3 separate regions of the Homo sapiens genome follow, and regions 1 and 3 are each linked to region 2. The links are contacts of gene promoters, found by promoter capture Hi-C in human tissues and cell types (Jung and others, 2019). All regions are on one chromosome and are shown on one strand. Each heading gives the region's core, a stretch centred on a gene start or on the middle of the fragment in contact. The rest is flanking DNA. Distances are from core to core; before and after follow the strand shown. Region 1 has its middle 40 kb from the start of SIPA1L2. Region 2 holds the start of NTPCR (nucleoside-triphosphatase, cancer-related). Region 3 overlaps SIPA1L2 (signal induced proliferation associated 1 like 2).

Region 1 (3,943 bases), core at 1,008-3,507, 280 kb before region 2:
GGAATTAAAGGGATAATAAATTTTGGAACTTGGCCCTGAACAAAGAGAAGCGACCTTCGTTGTCGTAGTGTGGAGAAATGGATGGTTGCCTCAGACTTTTTTTGTATCTAGAAATTATTTCTCAATGGCTCATAATTTTTGAATTATATTTACATGGCTTCTCATATCCAAGCCAAGATATCAGTTCACTGAGAGGGCTTTGCCAAATTGGAAATAGATTTGTTTTCCATGTTGGAATTACTGATGAAAACTGCAGGCATAAGTTCTTTTCCCTTCCTTTTTTTTTTTGTAAATGTGAAATACATCTTGCTTTGTTCTATTTATTTCTTTCTCAGTACAATACACTTCATCGAATAATTCTCAAACAGTTTTGAAAAGAGCTCAGGTTTGAGAATAAGATTTGTGCTCAAATTCAAACTTTGTACTTTTTAGCTTTCTAACTGGGTCAATGTAACCTCTTAGAACTTCAGTTTCTACCTCTGTAAGATGGGAACAATAATTATTATATCCTAAAGCTATTTTGTGAAATAAATGACTTAATAAAATGTAAAACACATAGCACTTTTTCAAGTCAAACCATATGAAACTGCCCGCTTGTAGCTCTTCTAGATTCTCTGTTTAGGTAGATTTACTCCATCCTTCATTTGTGATTCGGAGATGGGCAAATCAGCTGGGTGTAACTACCTCTTGGCCTAGACCTAAACAAAAAAAGTTTTTTGTTGTTGTTAATGTTTTTTTAAAGACTATCTGCTATCACCAATTTAAGCCCAGAGAAATAGGAACAGAATGGAAAATTATTCTGCACAACTATATGTGAGTTAATGTGATACACTGAAATAGAAAATATTCAACATGTATTTTCATTTATTCTTCCAACAAATATTCAATGAATGGCCTATTATAGATGGAAATGGTTCTAGGTGTTGGGGACACAGAGTTTACATTCTATTTGGGGAAATGGATAATAAGAATAATAATTAAGTAAACTATATAGAAGTTAAAAGGAGATTCAGTCTATAAAATAGCACCAGGAAGGCACGAGGAGAACTGAATGGATGAATATTAAATATGTTATTAACTTGCAAATATTTCTGAGCTTTATGAAGGAGGTTACATCAATGAGACAATAGCAATGAGAATAATAAAGATTCAATATAAAATCCTGGCAGGATTTTATATTGAAGGATTTTATATCCCTTTTAGGTGGGGAGCTTTACTTGGTTGTTGTGAATCTTAAACCATGCTGGATAAGCTGCTCTTTGGACTAAGATATGACCCTTCTTCAGAAAAGAAATGGAATTGACTATAATATGGAAGTAAAATTAACAGAAGAATTCCCATCCAGAGCTATATTTTGAACAATATTCTTTCCCAGGGAAACCAGTGCTGTGAGGGGCTTGCTCTAATAGTCTTACATTTCCAGACATCATGGTCTAATTCTGAGTTCTATGTGTTCTGAAATGATTGCCCTATAAAATGCTATAGAGAGAAAACCTATTTCTGATATTAGTTAAGTCTTTGTAGAAATGTTTCAAGTTTCTCTTTGATATTAGTGGGAACAGAAATTAATACAATGAAACGGTCTATCAAAATACCAGAATAGGTTGTTCGAGAGTAGCAGTTGCTAAAGAAATTTGAAGTGTGTAGAAAAAAAGGAACTATATGAATCAAAGTAAGTTTTTTTATTACTAGGTATTTCAGTATTTATCCTCAGCAAATGACCTTGTTTCCTACTTCATATAGGAAATAAGGGAAGAATGAAAGCATGGAATACTTCAGTTCCTACCTCCAAGTCTCTTGCCCCCAAATGTAACCATATTCATAAAAAATGTGCCTATATTCATCATTCATTTCATTCCTACTTTTTCCCTCACATTTGAATATATACTCTCCCTTTCTTTCAAAATGAATGGCTTAGTCCAAATGGCAGGTCATCCACCGCAGGCTGGTATACACACCCACAAAATAAAAACCCCAACCTGAGGGCTACCCTGCCAAGATTTCACATTGAGTCTTTATTATTCTTGTTACTACTTTCTGATTGATATAACGTCTTTTGTAAAGCTCAGGAATACTTGCAAGTTACCAATATATTTAACATTCAGCTCACCCAATGCCTTAACTGTGCTGTTTTTATAGACTTACCACCTGGATTCTGTGCTTTTCAACTACTCAGGAATTATTTCTTCCAATCTTTTATCCGTTTCCCTTTTCTCTCCTCTTTCCTTTCTCCTCTCTTTTTCTGCCTTTTCACTTTCTACTATTGAATTTTTTTTTTCTGCATACGAACATGCTTTAGTCTTCCCCCGCTTAAAAGCAATCAAAAAAGAACAAAATACCATCATCAATAACAGTAACAACTCTCGCAGCTTAACATCTGCCGCCGGGTACTCCCCTCTTTTCAATCCTTTCTCCTCAAGCTCAGCGGGTAGGTCTTTGGTGCTGTCTCCACTATCTCAATGCCCTGTCCATTCTCAGCACAACACAATCTGACATCTGGCTGTTGCTCTTTTATTATTGAGACTTTTTTCAATCAGCTCAGTGATGACCTCCTAGCTATGAAAGGCAAGGATATTCTTGAGTACTTACATTAGCTGGCCTTTAGTAACATGAGACAGGTGACCTCATCCTGCAGCAATTAGATGCGTATTTTCTGCCCGTGTACGGGAAGTGCAAGGATACATAGGAACGTCCATGTGGTTTCCCTTTAAAAGTATGACTTCCCTTGGCTTCTGAGAGACCACTCACTCTTGATTTTTTTTTCTACCTCCCAGACTTCCCTATCTCACCATCTTTGCTGGTTTCTCTCTTACCTTCCTATAAAGGTTAGTTTTTTCCTAGAATTCCATAATTAACTCTTGTTTTCATTCCATTTCCTCCCTGCAGTCATGCCCTGTTTCATTGGCATGAAATCAGCACAATTGCAAAGGCCCCATGTTTTGAAGGTCCCCAGCCTTAAACTGATGTTCTGCTTTCCCATTTTGAAATGTCTAATTTTTGGACAAGGACTCCAGGCCTTTTCATTGTTCACTGGACTTCACAAATTATGTAGCCTGTCCAGCCCCAGGTGGTCTCGTCTACAACTAAGAATTCCATTATCACCTGTGACTGATTAACTTCCTAGGTGCTACACCTGGTATGGAATAAGAACCTTTTCCTCCGAGAAACATATCCAAAAAAGTCTAACTTCTTGTCGACCCTGGTACACAGGGTTTTATTTATTCTGGGCTTCTGATTTTCTACCCCAAATGTCTTTACTCTTTTTTCTTCAGGTAAAGTCACAATTTTCCTCAGGAAGCAGTCCTGGGTCCGCTTCAGCAAATGAATAAGAGCTTGATTGTGTCCCTCAGGTGCTACAGTGTAAAGCAAGGCTCAGATGACGTTGGCTTGGAAAAGGTTCAAAATAAGTTGTACTAATCTGTCCCCACCAGGGCTATGGGAAAATCTTTAAATTGCATCTGTGAAATGTCTGTTGAGCAAAATGGCCTCCTTGTGAATCCATCAGCATGGATTAGCTGCAAAATATGCCATGGAACCAAAAACGACTGTGATGGTTACCAGAGACTGGGAAGGGTAGTGGGGGTGGGCGGGTGGTTAATGAGTACAAAAAAAAATTAGAAAGAATGAATAAGCTCTAGTACTTGATAGCACAACAGGGTGACCACAGTCAACAATAATTTATTGTACATTTAAAAATAACTAACAGTATAATTGGATTGTTTGTAATGAAAGAAAGGATAAGTGCTTGAGGTGATGGACACCCCATTTACCCTGATGTGATTATTACACCTTGCATGCCTATATCAGAATAGCTCATGTACCCTATACATATATACACCTACTATGTACCCACAAAAATTAAAGAATAAAATGAATGACCTTCTCAAAATCTCTCCCAAATAATAAATGATCTTTTCACAGAATGGTTATTTCCAAGCCATCT
Region 2 (3,634 bases), core at 63-2,562:
CTAAAGGGAAACCAAGAGGTCCATGTGTGGGCAGAAACCAATTAAGTTGAGCACTCACTGAACTGCTTTCTCAGCCAGGATGGGGAACGACTGACTACAAATTAAGCTGTACACATGTTAGACTGAAAGAGTTTACAGGTAAATGTGGCCCAAGGCCACTGCCACGTCATTCGTTGGCCGGAACACTTGCAGTGGTAAAGTGAGACGGAGAAGCTATTTAATTCTTTGCAAGAGGAGATCTTTATACACTTTGGTGTGAAAGTAAAGAGGGAAAACTGGGCGTCCTATGCATGGCTGAGGACGGGAAGCCTGCCTACACCAGTGGTTCTCAACCCTAGCGCACTTCAGGAACTTCCTGGAGTTTAGAAAGAAGAAAAAAGAATACAGGTGCTCAAGACTCGCTCAAGACCAATTACTCATGTTAAACAAGATTTATGGGAGGCCATTGTTTTGGACTAACCTCCTGCACTAGGTCCTAGCAGACTAGACCAAACCAGAATGGAGTCACTTGTGCCAAGTGCCATGTAACCAAACTGAACTTTGAAACAGGCCCGTTTTCCCAAAAAACAGGAGATTGTAGTTAACCTGAGTCAGTACAATAACGAAGTCCAATCTGTTTTAACCCTATAAGGAAAGTAACTTTGAAATACCCACTCTTTGTTTTGTTCTTCAGCCTTTTTTTGCCCATAAAGCCAACCTCCTCTGCACAACTCATTGGAACACTCTATTTGCTTTATGAAATGATCTATTTCTCGATTCTAGATCCTAAATATAAGCCAATTAGATCTTTAAACTAAACTTGTAATTTTGTCTTCTGACACTCCCTATTACTGCAGGTGAAACCCAGGCATCAGAGCAAGTTTAAAACTCCCCAGCTGATTCTATTCTGCAGGAATGTTTGAGAACAAAGTTGGAGTCATTAACATGGCATCCCCCTTTGAGGAATGCTTCCAGGTCACAAACCTTCTACAAAAGGGCTGTCCCGGCAGCCTTGGGCAATTTCAGCTCCTAGGTCCGGAGTCAAGGGGCAGAACTTGGGTGATGGCGCTGACTTGAAGCAGCAATAGTTTAATAACTGACGTTCTCACGCACTTATCTCTGCAAATACCCCACAAAAGCCCTGAACCCAGAATGAAACTTAAGAGACCGTACAACCCGCTCCGCCTATAGGAACTGCCGCGGCACAGGCGCCAATGCCGAGGGCTGAATGCGCAGGCGCGGACCGGGGACTCGGGAGAAGGCGCATGCGTGGTCTTGAGGGCGGTGCTTCCGGTCAAAGCACCGCTTGGGGGCGGGGCCTGCGACACGCGGTGGGCGGGTCCTGAGTCGCGACCCTGGTCCGGACCTGACCTGAATTGCGACCCCAACCTGGACTGCTCCCCTGACCGCAACCCCTACCCCCGCCCACCAGTATGGCCCGGCACGTGTTCCTAACGGGGCCCCCAGGTAACCCTGAGGGGATCCCCACCTCCAAGAGGTCGAGGGGGTGGGGGCGCGCGGGCTGCGGGCGACCTTGTGCTGTCGGGGAGGGTCTCCGGCTCCAGGGCTCCGGCCTCTGAAGTTCCCAATTTAAATGGCGGGCTTGGTAGTCTGAAGAGTTTGTACTCCTTCCCGGAAAACGTGATTTAAAAGACACAGGGCCTAAAGGATTAGAACACACTTGTGAGGGGGTCCTAGACTGGCTTCTTGATGAAGGGCAGAAACCGCAGGGGCCAGCGGCAGCGGTAACTCCTACTGTAGTGTTGACGTTGTGGTCTGCACAAATGGTATTTCAAGAGATCTGCGGCAACCGCGATGTGAAGTGGAGATGTCTAATTTCTGTTGATAGTCACAGGTATTTCCTTACTGTGGGTCTTTGCTACATTGATCGTGCAAAAAAAAAATGGTAAATTTTAGTTGGAGGACAGCGAAACTGAAGTTGTAACCTTTCTTTCCCATCTAAGTTCATCCCCCCACCCCCATCCCCATCTCCATCCCCACGAATTCCCTCCACAGCTGAGGCCAGAGGTGGAGAAGCTTTGGTACCTACAGGAGCCCTTCTCAGACACTCTTGCTTGTTCCTGTCGCTGTCCCCTCCTGATGTCTGTCAGATCCCTCAACCCTGTGGCCTGTGGAGTTCTCATCTGAGAAGCAGGATAGCGTTGAGGTCAGATGAGAGGTGTAGGAGGAGGTGCTTTTAAACCAAGGCGCTACCCATGTATCAAGCATTACTAAAAAGGACAGGTAGGCTGCATCAGATAGGCTAAAAAAAGATAGATGGGCTAAGAGTGGAGAAAGTGATTTCTTCAGCTCCTTTGCAAGGCAAATCTAATTTTGAAGTTTAGTGTGGGTTCAGATATCAAAGGCTGTAACCCTGGATCTAGAATTCTCTTTCACTTTATTTTAATGATTATGTTTAGTTGTAAGTAGCAAAGGCTACAGCTAATATTGCAGACTTTGGGATTTTGTCAGGCATTGGATGGGGGAGTTGGGGAGCAGGGGGTGAGGAGGAGGAGGGTGGTTTGAGAAATGCCTGCTATCTAAAGTCACTCCTAAGTATTGCAAAGAACTGTTTTCTGAAAGTTGGTTTGTCAATCCTTTATTTGAAACTTGGAATGCAGTTTGATACTCAGCAGGCTGACCCCAAGACAACTGTGTGTTTTATTAATGGAGGTGTCCTGTTACCGTGATTGTATTGATGGTGGTTCTTGTTTCTGCTTTATCAAAGTCTTACCTACACGTAGTTGAAAGACTCAAATAATTCTACAGTGTAGCTCTCTTAAACCTGTCCTCAAACCCACGCACCTTTGTCTTTTCTCCTTCTCTTCTTAATGTAGTTACAGCGTAATTTTCATTAGTCAATGTTTACAGTATTATGGCCATGTAAAGACAATCACAACAGAGCCACATAGTAATCTATGATTTCTTTTCCATTTATTTATTTATTTTAGAGACAGGATCTTGCTTTGTCACCCAGGCTGGAGTGCAGTGAAACAGTTATAGCTCACTGCATTCTCAAACTCCTGGGCTTAAGTGATCCTCCCACTTCAACCTCCTGAATAGCTGGATCTACAAGCGCATGCCACCACACCCGGGTATTTTTTTTTTTTTGTAGAGACCTGTCTCTTGTTATGTTGCCCAGGCTGATCTCCAACTCCTAGCCTCAAGTGATCCTCCCATCTGGGCCTCCCAAAATACTGGGATTATAAGTGTGAGCCACCTTACCCATCTTTTTTTTCCCTCTTCTTATTGAGACAGGGCCTCTCTCTGTTGCCCAGGTTGGAGTGCAGTGGCACAATCTTGGCTCACTGCAACCTCCACCTTCCAGGCTCAAACCATCTTCCCACCTCAGCCTCCCTAGTAGCTAGTACTACAGGCATGCACCACCATGCCCTCTAATTTTTTTTTTTTCCTTTTACACATAACTTTTTTCCCCATTAGGAGTTATTGTCAGGTGTTTTTATTTGCCTAGTTTCTTTCTGTTTTCTCAATATGTTCAGACCATCAGGTAAAGTCTCCTCTCAAAGAGGTCACTTTTTGTTGCATATCCTCTTAGTGCCCCTGGCACTTAGCATTTTTTCCGATTTCCAACTGTCTGTACCCATGACTCATCTTGGAGGGCTTTCTCTGGTCCCTGGAGCCCACTTGGCCTGCA
Region 3 (3,658 bases), core at 751-3,250, 360 kb before region 2:
TGGAAGCCTCATTCTCCATAACAAGGTTCCCTTAATCTAAAAACCTACCAAGGGAGGCAAACACAGAGAAGAAGCTGCTAAGAGTGCTGATACTGAACATGCAAATCAAAGGGCTTATAGCAACAGCAGAAAGTCAAGATGGCAGGTTTGGTAATAACACAGCTACTGACTTGCAAACACTCCAAAAATGCTTGCTGAACTGAATTAAATAGTTCACAGCTTGAAGTAGGAAAAACCATGATGAGCAAGACTGGAAAAGGTGGTACCTCTAATCTGTAAAAATAATAACAGCAATAAAGAGAAAACTATGAAGGAAATAGAGTTGGAATATTTCAAAACAAAAGGCCAACACAAAAAGAAGATAATATTTACTTAGCTTGGCTTCATCAGCTAACTCAGAAAAATCCCTCATGAAAGCAAAGCACAAGACTCGGTTTCTCCTTGAGACCCTGTTTGTTAGCTCTGTCTCCGCACAGCGATACAGTTTGCACAGGGGATTCTGCCACAGTTCTGCCACCTGTACTCTGATATTTTCTCAGTGATCATGTGGGTCCTCTCTCTGTGTCCAGAGGAGTCAATTAAAAAGACATTCATAAATTGAATGTCTAGGTTTCACACATCCACATCCTCAGAAGCAGGTGTCCACTACAATGTATTTATTAATATTTTATCAGATGTCATTTTATCTAGACAAGTTCATCATCGCCACAGTTATTACCAGGGAGTCCTACTGCAAAGGGCAATTGAAGAGCACCTGGCTTCCTCCCAAAAGGCTCCAAAGACCGAACGACTCCAACCTGAGTGTTCGAGATTCACAGGAAGAGCTCGTCACGTAATCACACAAATCAGAAAACTGAAGAGAAAAATAAAATGGGTCAAAATATCAACTCACACAAAAACAGCTACTCTAAATGACTTAAAATTTCTTTTAATGAAGAATTTTTAAAAAGCTTCTATAGAAATAACAAGATATTCTTCTAGGCATGAAAGCTTTCTCTTCTAGAGCCACCCAAGAAAAACACACTTGTGATTCTTCATACACAGAAAACAAGCAAACATCATCACTACCTAGTTACAATGCGAAACTGCTGGGAAAACAGGAGTGAAACAGGAGTCTTTGTCACAAACAGCATCAATTACATAACCAATGTGATGCTGTCCCTTCATACTGGGCACATTCCCAATCAGGGGAAAGAACACTGGTTGGCTTTTTAAGTGAATAATGATAAAGACTGCGTCTATTATTTTTGGAGTATGTCTACACAGCTGGTGTCATGGGCCTTGATGGTAATAGGAAACAGACATACAAGGGTAGGGAGACTGAGGATGACGGTATCACAGGAAGGTGGGATGGGAGGGGCTGTGCAGCTATATTTCACAACTTTATTACTTTTATACTACAAAAAGATTACCTTGACTAATCTTTATTATGAACACAAAACCCATTTGACTTTTTAAAAACTAATGAATTTATGCAGCCATTACACTTGCCCTAATTATTCAAACTGCTACATAAAGTATGAACTGATACACCAGGTACAGATTTAGATGTTCAGGACACAGGAGTCAACAGCCCCAGTCAAAGTGCCACACTCCAGGAACTCTCTTACACATCCCTCCCACATGGCCCCACACGTCTATCACCACACGTATGAGGTATCTGACCCATTTCTGTAATACTAAGTTCATAACGAGTCAAGTCTAGTTCTGTCTCATTTAGCACCTTTCCTGTATGTCTTAAAGTCGTGGTTCTCAAAAAGTATGAACCACGGGCCCCTTAGGATCCCCAAGGCTCTTCAACTGGATCTGTGAGGTCAAACTAGAATTCTAAAGCTGTTATTTGCCTTTTTGTACAGCATCAACAGTACAAGAGCAACAGCATGTAAAAATGTGTGTACCTTACTACACAGCAAGGCAGTGGCCCCACACTGTACTTACTAGCTGTCATCTTACCACATAACTGCAGTTAAAATAAATGAAGAGATCAGTCACCTCACTTATTGTCCTTGATGGATGATATGATTTGGCTGTGTCCCCACCCAAATCTCATCTCGAACTGTAGCTCCCATAATTCCCTCGTGTTGTGGGAGGGACCCAGTGCGAGATAACTAAACCATGGTGGCGGTTTCCCCCATACTGTTCTTGTGGCAGTGAATAAGTCTCACAAGATCTGATGGTTTTAGAAGGGGAAATCCCTTCCACTTGGCTCTCACTCTTCTCTTATCTGCCGCCATGTGAGACGTGCCTTTCACCTTCCACCATGATTGTGAGGCCTCCCCAGCCATGTGGTACTGTGGGTCCATTAAACCTCTTTCTTTTGTAAACTGCCCAGTCTCGGGTATGTCTTTATCAGCAGCAGGAAAACGGACTAATACAATGGAGAAGTAAAAAACTGATTTTATTACGCCTTGACTCTTGAGCACACACACACTATGACTCTGTGTGAAGGAAGGGAAAGCCCTGTTGCAGCATATACTGGTGGCTGTCGCAAGGGTCAGCACCTGTGGGGTGGACCTATGAGGTGATGAGCCACTTTTCTTCATTGAACCCAACCTTGTACTTGACAGAGCGATATATAAACAATGGTTATTCCGACAAGGCTATCTGGCAGGCATTTTAAAGAAAAGAAACAAAACAGGCCCATTTTCGAGGAAAACAGTAAGATTAAGCTTTTATGAAAATTTTAGACTTTCTTAAAACTTGAATAACCACTGTGATCTTGACAATTTCCCTACACTTAAGAATTTTCTGATTCATGACAAGAATTTTTGATATTACAAGTGAAATATATAAACATTTGGGAGATTTTTCTAAGTGGCCAATGCATGATATTCAAAATAATACCTAAAACAGAGTTTTTAAAGTTCATAGATAGGGTTTCAGGATCTACATACATCTCGACCAAACTTTGAGATACCACTTCTCTAGTGTTATATCAAAGAAGATCCACTATTATCTGAAAGGAAATTCAAGCACTCCCTTTTCCAACTACAAACCTGTGTGAGGCTAGGTTTTCTTTGGTTGGATGGCAACCACAGCTACATATCACAACAGATTGAATGCAGATGCAAGGCAAGAAAACAGCTGTCTTCTAATAAGCCAGATATTAAAGATATTCGCAAAAAATAACGAAGCATACTTCTCAATAAGTGTCTTAGTTTTGGAAAATAGTTATTTTTCACGAAAGTATTATTTATGTTAACATACAGGTGGTTATATTGTTATTTTAAATTCAATAATGATTTCTAAAATCCCTTTTTTATTTCTGATATGGTAGATTATGTGATTGATAGAACTCACATAAACAAAAACTCTTTGGAGTCCTCAATTATTTTCCAGAGTGTAAAAAAAAGGCATGAGACTAAAATAATTGAGAAGCACTATCTGAAAGAAACATTTAGGTGGCAGTTCCCTCAAGGAAACACAGGGGCACGTTTATGGAAAAGAATTTGAGACATAAAGCAGGTGAGCTAAAATTTCCTCACCATCGGGTGACAAAACGCAGTTTCATTTCAATTCATTAAGCCAAATACGTATTCACTGAGGTTTCTCTTTAGGGTCAGACAATGATTAAACTATTTAAACATTTGGATCTCCATTAATCTTCCATCAATTTCCCAAATGACTAGTCTTGTGTAACACTACGGTAACACAGTAT

Evidence for each region. Contacts are between HindIII fragments. The study calls those that stand out against the background at their distance.
Region 1: a contact is called between a fragment that was not itself captured here and the fragment with the promoter of NTPCR in region 2, in 1 of the 25 tissues and cell types used here (small bowel).
Region 3: a fragment that was not itself captured here is called in contact with the fragment with the promoter of NTPCR in region 2 in 1 of the 25 tissues and cell types used here (H1 embryonic stem cells).

What each region holds. Positions count from the first base shown.
Region 1 is chr1:232,667,919-232,671,861 of GRCh38, forward strand. No RefSeq gene overlaps it. Among named protein-coding and RNA genes, the nearest start is that of SIPA1L2, 40 kb to the left of the region's middle. The HindIII fragment of the contact is 7,975 bases long and covers 1-3,943 here.
Region 2 is chr1:232,949,299-232,952,932 of GRCh38, forward strand. It overlaps NTPCR (nucleoside-triphosphatase, cancer-related), which reads left to right and starts at 1,313. Exons shown (of 5, transcript NM_032324.3): 1 at 1,313-1,446. The coding sequence starts at 1,413. It overlaps LOC107985361 (a long non-coding RNA gene), which reads right to left and starts at 2,251. Exons shown (of 2, transcript XR_001738525.2): 1 at 2,030-2,251; 2 at 1-1,858. RefSeq lists enhancers at 1,035-1,134, 1,047-1,588, 1,589-2,128, 3,257-3,634. The HindIII fragment of the contact is 11,474 bases long and covers 1-3,634 here.
Region 3 is chr1:232,585,683-232,589,340 of GRCh38, forward strand. All of the region lies in intron 1 of SIPA1L2 (signal induced proliferation associated 1 like 2), which reads right to left. Among named protein-coding and RNA genes, the nearest start is that of SIPA1L2, 43 kb to the right of the region's middle. The HindIII fragment of the contact is 5,763 bases long and covers 1-3,658 here.